3 separate regions of the Homo sapiens genome follow, and all the other regions are linked to region 3. The links are contacts of gene promoters, found by promoter capture Hi-C in blood cells and fetal thymus (Javierre and others, 2016). All regions are on one chromosome and are shown on one strand. The core of a region is centred on a gene start or on the middle of the fragment in contact, and the rest is flanking DNA. Distances in the headings are between cores, read along the strand shown. Region 1 overlaps DVL2 (dishevelled segment polarity protein 2). Region 2 overlaps DLG4 (discs large MAGUK scaffold protein 4). Region 3 holds the start of MIR497HG (mir-497-195 cluster host gene).

Evidence for each region. The method cuts DNA at HindIII sites, captures the fragments that hold promoters and counts their contacts. A CHiCAGO score of 5 or more calls a contact.
Region 1: a contact is called between a fragment that was not itself captured here and the fragment with the promoter of MIR497HG in region 3, in 1 of 17 cell types (monocytes). The highest score is 5.3, in monocytes.
Region 2: a fragment that was not itself captured here is called in contact with the fragment with the promoter of MIR497HG in region 3 in 2 of 17 cell types (monocytes and naive CD8 T cells); the score reaches 5.9 in monocytes.

Annotation. Positions count from the first base shown.
Region 1 is chr17:7,227,084-7,230,447 of GRCh38, reverse strand. DVL2 (dishevelled segment polarity protein 2) reads left to right here. Exons shown (of 15, transcript NM_004422.3): 3 at 18-163; 4 at 293-402; 5 at 505-640; 6 at 770-860; 7 at 1,001-1,070; 8 at 1,174-1,313; 9 at 1,403-1,479; 10 at 2,404-2,471; 11 at 2,665-2,793; 12 at 2,913-3,044; 13 at 3,179-3,358. Among named protein-coding and RNA genes, the nearest start is that of MIR324, 5.4 kb to the right of the region's middle. RefSeq lists an enhancer at 1-974. The HindIII fragment of the contact is 1,610 bases long and covers 476-2,085 here.
Region 2 is chr17:7,204,265-7,207,591 of GRCh38, reverse strand. The region is part of intron 2 of DLG4 (discs large MAGUK scaffold protein 4); the gene reads left to right. Among named protein-coding and RNA genes, the nearest start is that of DLG4, 12 kb to the left of the region's middle. RefSeq lists an enhancer at 2,373-2,422. The HindIII fragment of the contact is 8,126 bases long and covers 1-3,327 here.
Region 3 is chr17:7,017,841-7,021,312 of GRCh38, reverse strand. It overlaps MIR497HG (mir-497-195 cluster host gene), which reads left to right and starts at 1,659. Exons shown (of 3, transcript NR_038310.1): 1 at 1,659-1,935. MIR497 (microRNA 497) reads left to right here and starts at 3,291; the gene lies at 3,291-3,402. RefSeq lists an enhancer at 2,585-2,754. The HindIII fragment of the contact is 3,977 bases long and covers 490-3,472 here.

The DNA.
Region 1 (3,364 bases), core at 31-2,530, 210 kb before region 3:
CATTTGCACCCTTCTAGCTGGTGTCCTCAGATAATCCCCAACCCGAGATGGCCCCTCCAGTCCATGAGCCTCGGGCAGAACTGGCGCCTCCAGCCCCACCTTTACCTCCTTTGCCACCCGAGAGGACCAGCGGCATTGGGGACTCAAGGCCTCCATCCTTCCAGTGAGTCCTTCAGATTCTTGACTGCAGGGGAGGGAGGTGAGGAGGGAACCCAGGCCTTTGGTAGGGGACGCCTAGGATCCGGAGCCCTGTTCTCCTGATGTGGGTTGGAAACCATCTCTGCCTGTCCAGCCCTAATGTGTCCAGCAGCCATGAGAATCTGGAGCCTGAGACAGAAACCGAGTCAGTAGTGTCACTGAGGCGGGAGCGGCCTCGCAGGAGAGACAGCAGTGAGCATGGCGGTGAGGGGCAGGCCTGGGGGCCGGGAAGGGCTGGGCCAGACCCCAGCCTTGGTGGGGTGAGCAGGGGGAAGCTTGGTTCTTGAGCTTCCTGTCCATATGTAGCTGGGGGCCACAGGACTGGTGGCCCCTCAAGGCTGGAGCGCCACCTGGCCGGATACGAGAGCTCCTCTACCCTCATGACCAGCGAGCTGGAGAGTACCAGCCTGGGGGACTCGGACGAGGAGGACACCATGAGCAGGTGTGGCTCCGCACAGCTCTCCCCAGCGCACCCAGCCCCGTCTCGTCTTCCAGTCAATCCTCTTGTTCTTTCTCTTGGCCCCATGACCACTTTGGCCTACGTTTGCTCTCCTTCCCAACCTCCTGGTAGGTTCAGCAGCTCCACGGAGCAGAGCAGTGCCTCCCGCCTCCTTAAGCGCCACCGGCGGCGAAGGAAGCAGAGGCCACCCCGCCTGGAGAGGGTGAGGGGTTCCTACAGGAAGGCTGGTGCTGGGAGAAGGTGGGGCATGGGCTTTGGTTTGGGCGGTGCCAGGACACCGGCAGCACCCCAGGGTTGACCCTGGGTTATTGAAGGGCACTCTGGCTCCTTTTCCCACCACAGACGTCATCCTTCAGCAGCGTCACAGATTCCACAATGTCTCTCAATATCATCACAGTCACGCTAAACATGGGTATGGGGAGAGCCTGTGGCTAGGGCGTGGGGAGGGCCTGGTCTCTAGGGTTCCGGGCGTCCTGTGGCAGGGGCTCCTCTTTTCACATGGCCTCTCTCCACAGAGAAGTACAACTTCCTGGGTATCTCCATTGTTGGCCAGAGCAATGAGCGGGGAGACGGAGGCATCTACATTGGCTCCATCATGAAGGGTGGGGCTGTGGCGGCCGACGGGCGCATTGAGCCAGGGGACATGCTTTTGCAGGTGTGCTGGGGTAGGGCCACTGAGCTGCCCTGCACGGGGGCCCTCAGCCTCTCCCACCGTGTCTCTGACCCACTTGCCGTCGCTTCCAGGTGAATGACATGAACTTTGAGAACATGAGCAACGATGACGCTGTGCGGGTGCTGAGGGACATTGTGCACAAGCCTGGGTGAGTTGCCAAGCAGGTTGCCGGTCCTCAGTCCTCTTTTTTTTTCTCTTTCATGTTTTGTTTTGGAATTTTAATAAGTACTAAGACAGCCGGGCGTGGTGGCTCGAGCCTGTAAACCCAGCACTTTGGGAGGCCCAGATGGGTGGATCACCTGAGGTGAGGAGTTCGAGACCAGCCTGACCAATGTGGTGAAACCGTGTCTCTACTAAAAATAGAAAAATTAAGTGGGCATGGTGGCACATGCCTGTAGTCCCAGCTAGTGAGGTGGCTGAGACAGGAGAATCACTTGAACCCTGGGGGGTGGAGGTTGCAGTGAAACGAGATCACGCCACTGCACTCCAGCCTGGGCGACAGAGCAAGACTCCGTCTCAAAAAAAAAAAAAAGTGCTAAGACATAACGTTCAAAGTACATGAAACAAATGCATGACATAGCAAATAATACTAGAGTAAATATCCATGTCACTGCCATCTAGATCATCAAATAGGAGATTGCTGATACCCTAGAACTTCCTCCTCAGATGTCCCTTCCTGCTCCCAAATGCCTCACTGCCCCAGGGGTAGTCACTCTCCTGACTTCTTTGGCCATCACCATAACAAAGAAAAGCTTTGCCTCACTGGATAGTTACCACCCTTGCACGTATCCTTGAACACTGCAGTTTCGTTTTACCTGTTTTTGGACTTTCTGTGAATGGAACTGTACAGCGTGTACTCTCTTGTCTCACTTGGCAGTATGTTTTTAAGAGTTTTCCATGTTGATGAGTCATCCACATTGTGGTGCCTTCCACCCTCACCTTCTCTAGCCCAGCCGCGATGTGCTTGCTTCTCCCCCTCTTTGTGTCTCTTAATCCATCCTTGCTTCAGACCCCCGCCCTCCTGAGGCCTCCTCTTCCCCTGCGCCCTTGACTGGACTTCTCTTCCCCATAGCCCCATTGTGCTGACTGTGGCCAAGTGCTGGGATCCCTCTCCTCAGGCCTATTTCACTCTCCCCCGAAGTGAGTGACACTCAGGGAGGGGCCTGAAGTTGGGGGTGGGGGCTGCCCAGGAGGCTGGGGCCGGGCCTGTGGTCATGGGGAATGGGTGGGAGGAGGGTCCAGGCAGAGGTGGAACAGGAGGCTGAGTCAGGGAGGGACTGGGCTGGCTTTTGGGGACTGAGAATGGGTCATTTTGGTGCCATCTTTGTCCCAGATGAGCCCATCCAGCCAATTGACCCTGCTGCCTGGGTGTCCCATTCCGCGGCTCTGACTGGCACCTTCCCAGCCTATCCAGGTTCCTCCTCCATGAGCACCATTACATCTGGATCGTCTTTGCCTGATGGTGAGCCGCCAGCCCACCTCATCCCACCCTCCCAGCAGAAGGCTGTCCCGCAGTGGTCTGATCCATTGCCCTTGTGGGAGCGATCCCTGACTCTGGTTACCCGTTGTCTCCTCTGCCAGGCTGTGAAGGCCGGGGTCTCTCCGTCCATACGGACATGGCATCGGTGACCAAGGCCATGGCAGCTCCAGAGTCTGGACTGGAAGTCCGGGACCGCATGTGGCTCAAGATCACCATCCCTAATGCCTTTCTGGGTATGGCTGGGTCCTGGGCAGGTGGCTGGAGAAGGGGAGGAGGTGGTGACCAAAGCCAGGAATGGCACAGGCAGAGGCGAGAGCAGGAGTTGGAAGAAGAACCTGAGGCCTTTTTCCACTGTGGGTGCTCCCAGGCTCGGATGTGGTTGACTGGCTCTACCATCACGTGGAGGGCTTTCCTGAGCGGCGGGAGGCCCGCAAGTATGCCAGCGGGCTGCTCAAAGCAGGCCTGATCCGACACACCGTCAACAAGATCACCTTCTCTGAGCAGTGCTATTACGTCTTCGGAGACCTCAGTGGTGGCTGTGAGAGCTGTAAGT
Region 2 (3,327 bases), core at 256-2,755, 190 kb before region 3:
GCTCTGTTCCAAGCGCCTGCTGCCCTCATTTGCTCTTGTCCCTTCCCCGCCTCCTCCCCCTACCTCCGCCTCTGGGCCTGGCTCGCCCTGTCCCCAAGTCTCCAGCTCTTTCCATCTGTCTGGCCTGAGACTTCACATGGTGGGGCCTTGCTGCCTCGTCCCCTGCCCCAGCTTTGCTCCACTCCTGAGTTCTCTTCCCCCTCTGCAGCCTTTCCTCCCTGCTGGCTGGCTGGCTGGCTGGCTCTTGATGCTGTCTCTCTCTTCCTCCCACGCATTCTCCTCTCCCTCTCCCTGATCCCCAGCCCAGGCCGCTGGGGCCTGATCAGTCCTTTCCCTCATCAGTCCTCTCCCTCCATCAGCCAGCTCCCCTTTCCCATGTTCCCTCTTGCCTATTCATCTTCACCTTCCCTCTTTTCCTCCTCCCCTCTCTCATCCTCTTGGGTTCTCACCTCTGCCATATCTTCTTTCTATCCCCCTCTGCCCCCTCCATCATCCCCCACCACCTGTTTCCCTTTCTCCTCTCTGCTCACAGCGTCCTCCTCTCTCCAGTCCCGGGAGGCCTGGTTTCTGGGACCTTCCATTCTCCAGTCCACTTTCCATCTTCCCCTTCCTCCATCTCCTCTTCTGGGGACACAGGATGGGGAGGACTGGAGAGCACCAGGCAAGCTGTGAGATTGAGGGGACACTGTGGGGTCAGGGTGGGGATTCTAGGATGTTGTGGGATGCTCTGGGAAGGGGGAGGTTGCTGACATTTCACCAAGAAGATGGGGAGGAGGTCTCTGAGCCTAGGGAGCGGGCAAGCAGGTTCTGGAGTTAGAACTGGCAAGAGAGGAGTTGGGGGATAGGAAGGGTAAGAGGTCCTGGGTCAGGGGCCAGATAGGGATAAGACTGTGAGATCAGGGCAGTGAATGAGGCTGACAGAGCAAGGAAAGGAAGGCCCTGGAGACAGGGATGGTACAGAGTGTTTGTGCGAATTCTGTGGATGCTAGGAGTGAGGGAAAGAAGACTAGAGATGCTTTGTGCAAGGCAGGGCCATTAAATCCCTGAGCAGGGGGAAGAGGAGGTAGGGAGCCTGAGGGGTGGTAGTTAGTACAGAGCTGCTGCTGATCAGAGCTCAGGAGCAGAAGGGGGTGGAGGGAGAGAGTGTTGGAGGCCATAAGCATGGGGTGGAGGTCTCAGGACAAGGCCTCACCTGGGGAACAGGAGAAGCCCCAATTTTCAGAAGAGAGGGGAGTTGATTGAGAAGTGTAAGATTGTTACTTGAGAATAATCTTGAGGGTATGAAGGTAGGGTAAGGGAGAATGGTGATAAACTCTCTGGGGAATCAGAAATTGAGATGGAGTAGCTGGGTGGGGTGGCATGTGCCTGTAGCTACTCAGGAGGCTGAGGTGGGAGGACTGCTTGAGCCCAGGAGTTCAAGGCCGCAGTGAGCTATGATCACACCACTGCACTCCAGCCTGGGTGACACAGCGAGACCTTGTCTCTGGAAAAAAAGAAATTGGGATGGAGGATGAGGCCACATTGGTAAGGGATGGGGCTGGAGGGTGCGACAGGGCCAGGGAAGCGGATGGAGAATGGAGGCTGGGGTTGGAAGATGGATGTTGAAGGGCGAGACAGGGATGGAGATGGAGCATGTGGGATGCGGGCAGAGATAGGGATGGGAAGCAAATGAATGTCGTAGTGGATGAAGGTGGGTGTGCTGGGAAGGAGGTTCCAGGATAGGGATGGGGATGGGGATTGAGGATGGGCTATGGGATGGAGGACGGGCTATGGGATGGAGGACGGGCTGCGGGATGGGGGACGGGCTGCGGGATGGGGGACGGGCTGCGGGATGGGGGACGGGCTGCGGGATGGGGGACGGGCTGTGGGATGGGGGACGGGCTGTGGGATGGGGGATGAACACGTGGATGAGATTTTGGCAGTCAGTGACTGTTGGTTGGACAACAGCATTTGCTGATATGTGAAGGGTTGGAGGGTGGTGTTAATAGATTTATGGGTGTGAAATCTGTGATACAGCTTGAAAATGGTCGGTAGTTTGTAGGCTTGAGAAATAGCAGTAGGAGAGGGGAGGGACCCCTTTGGACGGGGAGAGCGGGAAGGAGACTGGGGAATCCTTGCGCTTGGGCGACTGCAAATACATGTTTCTTTAAGGAGGAAGTAGGTTGGGGACCCCGGAAGGAGGCTCTTGGCGGCCTCCCCCCATTGCCATAGAGACGTGGCTTCGGTTGCCCTGGCAATTGGGGAAGCCCCTAGGACCGGGCTAAAGCGGGCCCCGCCTGGGAGTCTAGAGACCAGGCGATTGACGTCAGGGACCTGGGCACGCCCCACTTTAACCCTTTCCCGAATGAAGTGGGGGGAGGGAGTAGATGAGCGGGATAGGACCCGGATGTCTTTCACCACTCCCAGTTCCTGACGTCCTTTGCACTGCGTAGGGTGAGGGGCGTAGGGGAGCGAGGAAGGCAGGTTATTCAGGATGCGCTGCGCCCACAAACCTCTTCAGCCCGGCCTCCTCTCGGCCTGGCTAACGTGGGGCGGGGCCCAGGGCAGGAGAGGCGGGGCTAGCGGATCCCTTCTGCGCTCAGGAGTTTGGTCGGCCCCAGGCCACGCCCCACCCCCCTGTTGTCCTGACGACAGGGCCTCCTGGAGGTGGGTCTCCCCGGGTCTTGACTGGTCCTAGATACCGTTGCTAGGCAACACGGTCCTTAGAGGAAGGGGTGGATTGGACGGCTGGTTGGTGAGACCGAGGGAGGGGCCTGCAGCTGGGGAACCCCGGATTCCCGGGGTGCAGGGTTTAGGGCAAATGTCTGTGAAAGTGAGGGGCAAGTCTAGGGGAGGGTTATGAAAATATCTGGGTAGATATGGGGGGTTGGGGGGATGGGGCAGGAAATGGGGACCAGGACCCGGTGGACATGATCCCTGGGGTGTCCATGTGTAGCACATAAGGCATGTAACACCCTGTGGTGTTACATCCGGTGAGAAGCTCCCTTCCCCCAAGCCTACCCCCCTCTCCCCACTCTTTGCCATCTGCTGCTCCCCTCTCCGTCTGGCTGTCTCCCTTCCCGCTTCTCCTACACCTCCTTCCACATGCAGGGGGCCCCGGGCTGGGCAGAGTTAGATCCTTGCGCGTGTGCATCTGTGCGTGTGTGTGCGCGTGCGCATGTGCACGCGTGTGCGTGTGTGTGATGTGGATTGAGGCTGGGCCCTTGAGCAGCTCTCAGGGTGGCGGAGTGGGCTTGGCTAAGAGGCTGAAAGGGTAGCCACGCTGATGGGACCCTCCGTTATGGGCTCCCTCTCGAGTCAAGGCTCAGGCTGCTTTTTGTCTCTTGT
Region 3 (3,472 bases), core at 410-2,909:
GATGGAGTATTATTTGATCAGTTGTGGGGTGTCTGTTTATTATGGGGTGTTGATTTGATTGTGAGCACCGGTGGCTGCATTCAGCCTTTGAGGCCTATATGGTAAGTTTCAGGTATGGGGCTGACTTGGAAGTTACATTAGTTCTGGGGGTTCTGACACCCACAATTTGGAGATTGTGCTCACCTGTGTCATCTTGGACTATCAGCAGAACCAAAGTACTCATGCTGATTTGGGGGTGCAGTCTATTTTGGGGTGCCATCTAAGTTTCAAGGCTCAGATTAGATTTGGGGAATAAGTTCAATTTGGAGTTTTAAAAATTAGTTTGAGGTGGAACATTATAGGAAGCTGGGAGCAAGTTCGAAGCTTTCTGTGATTGGGGGTCCTGGGAGGGGGGAGCAAACTTTTATATTTGAGTCTTGTGGACACTCACGTTCCACAAAGTGGAAAGACGTGGGGTATTCCTGTGTATCCATGGATACCCAAGAAGCTTTTTCCCCAGGGGAGAAACAAGGTGAGGGCCGCGAGGACAGGAGACTAAAGTTCTGGGGTGTTCTTATTTTGGGGGTGTTTTGTCACTCTGGCTGCTTTTGGTGAAGCTAAGGGATAATCATAAGGTGAGACTGATTTGGGAGTTCACTTAATTTGGACCCTGGTTTGGGATGTCTTTTGCTTATAGTGCCCTCTCACCCCAGATTCTAGAAGTTTCTTTAGTGAACCCCCAAATAAGCCCAGGATTTGAAGGGAGAAACTTGGAAAGGGTGTGGTATCTCCTTTTATTATTATGTGGCTTGAGGGAGAAGAGAGGGAGAAAAGGCGGTTTCAGACTCTGAATCCCAATTTCTTAAGGGAGCACCCCTTAGTTTGGGGGAAGTTGGAGAAAAATGGGGTGTCCCTTGGCCAAGTGGGCACCCCTGACCAGGGCAGTGCTGTTGGAACTGTGGCAAGGAGGGGTGCTGGTGGGGTACAAGGAGGTGATTCTTGCACCCTGATTTTCTAGGATGAGCCCCAAACAGAAAGCAGACAGAGGACTGGGAGTGTGGGTGAGATGGCGGGGAGGGGTTCCCCACGGCAGCCGGGGCTACAGGGTAAGCCAGGCCAGCTCTTCGCGCCTGGGTCCCTTCTCTCTTCGGCCCTCCTCCCCTCTCTCCCTCCCACCGCCCACCCCCCCAACCCAAGAAAAAAAACTGCCTGTGCAACAGCAATGGCAGATTCCAATCCTCCAGGCTTTCCTAAACCACCACGGTGACCAGCCAGGGGGGAGGGGAAGGGAGGAACGGGCTTTCCTGCTTCCTTAAGACAGGGGCAATGAGCTTGACCTCCTGGCCCCTAGCCCTTTGAGGAGTGATTCCCCCCGGTCTGGAAGCCAGGTGTCCTGGACCCTAGCCCCCGAGCGGTGGGGGGGGCCTGGAGAGACGGGGAGGAGGAAGGAGGGAGTGACTTCCAAAATTGGCATCGGGACAGAGCAGGGCTGGCGGGAGGCAGGCAAAAGACGGAATTTTCCTGAAAAAACGGGGGTATCTGAGGACCCCAAATTTGGGGAGCTAGTCCAGGACCGTCCTCCCAACATCCTAGATTTTTTTGGGATTTTTTGGGGACCCCGGGACCCCTCTAGATGGGGTGAGGAATGTAGTGTTGGGTGAATCTGACTGGGGCATTGCAGCTGCCTCTCCCGCCGAGTTGGAGACGGATGGGCTGGGACGGGTTTTGGGGGGGTGTCCCCAATTCTGACTGGGAGTGGAGGAACCCCTCCTGAGATCTCTTGTGGGGGTGCCCCCTCCCCAGGGCACTCCCCAGTCCCTGAGCCAGCCGAGAGGAAGGAGGCCAGCGATGCGACTGGGGCGGCTCCTTTCTCCTGCACCCCAAATGTGAGGGATGCACCCTAAATTTTGCTCTTTTCAAAATAGGGGACCAGGATCTCAGGGGAGAGTAGCTGAGGTAAGTGGGGAGGGAAGTGTCCTCTGTTTTCAGGAGAGACGTGGCGGTTGGGGGGGAGGTTTGGAGGTGCGTGCTGGGGTGGGGTTGGCTTTGTCAGTCTTGGAATTGGGGGGATGATTGGAGAGGCTTTCTCTTATACCCCTAAACTGCAGCCCCCCAGACGGAAACCAAAGGCTGAGACCAGAGAGCCCCCCAACATCCCCAGCCGTTAGGATAGTGTTTAATTTCTCTTTCACCCCCCACAAAGGCTCTGCCGAGGTAGGAGCTGGGGGCAACTGTTAGTTTGGGGGCTATGGAGGGTGGTGGAGGAGCAGGAGGCCTTGGCAAGATTTGATGGAGGGCAGATAGGGGTGTCCGGGAGGGGTCTGGCATCTTCGGGGGCCTAAAAAGACTGCTTACATACACCACCTTGGATCTTTCAGATTGCTAAGAGTTTTGGGGGGTGTGTCGGAAGAGGGGGTGGTAAAAGATGCGATGGGATATAGGAAGATAACTTCTGGATTTTAGGGGGTCATATTTTGATTTGCAAAAGGAGTTTTGGCCCTTGGATTTTGCTTTCTGAGGGGTGTTTTTAAAAAATCAAGTCCTGGACAGGAGAAAAGGGCTGAGGGAAGGCCTGGAGTTGGGGGTGGGGAGAGGCATGTTTGTCTCAGCTTAAACGTGGCTCTCTGGGGTGGGCCCGCCTGCCCTGGCCTGGTGGATGGGCTGATGGAGGTTGCTGTGGGGGCCGGCTCGGGTCCTCAGGGGCCCTGGGGAGTGGGAACAGCACTGGGGGTTGAATACCTGGCCCCCCAGGTCCAGATGGCCCTCTTCCTGGGCTCTGCTGCTCCCCTTCCCCCTGGTCTCCATTTCCTGCCTTTGGCCTCCATCTTGTGGCAGGCCCAGGGCCCAGGGCGACTTCCGGCCCCCCTCTCCCAACCATGTTCCGGCCCCACCACCTCTGGACTGCCAACTCCCAACCCTGCTGGCCTTGGCCCTCTGTCTCTCCTTGCTTTTCTCTTGGGTTCTGACCCAGGGAGAGGAAGGACGGACACAGGAAGCCTTGGGTCCCTGCCCTTGCTGAGACAGGAGGCAGTGTGTTGGCCCCTCCAGTCATTCCCTATTTCTTCTGCCTCTGACCCCACCCTAGGGATCCCCTGAGCTGAGTTCCTACAGAGGGAAGATGGTCCAATCTTACTACACTGTGAGCTCATCCCCATGGTCCGTCGCCTTCCAGTTGCCTGCTCAGCCCGTCCCTGGTTCCTCCCAAACGTTTTTGGGGGCCATGTTTGCCTTTTAAGGCTTCTCTATCCCCCCGCTCCTGGAGGTGGTGCTGGGGTCTTCCCAGCACTGCTATGTGCTCTCTTCCTTTCAACCCACCCCGGTCCTGCTCCCGCCCCAGCAGCACACTGTGGTTTGTACGGCACTGTGGCCACGTCCAAACCACACTGTGGTGTTAGAGCGAGGGTGGGGGAGGCACCGCCGAGGCTTGGCCCTGGGAGGCCATCCTGGAGAAGTGACACAAAAAACATCTGGGGCCTTGTGACAAACTTCTTGC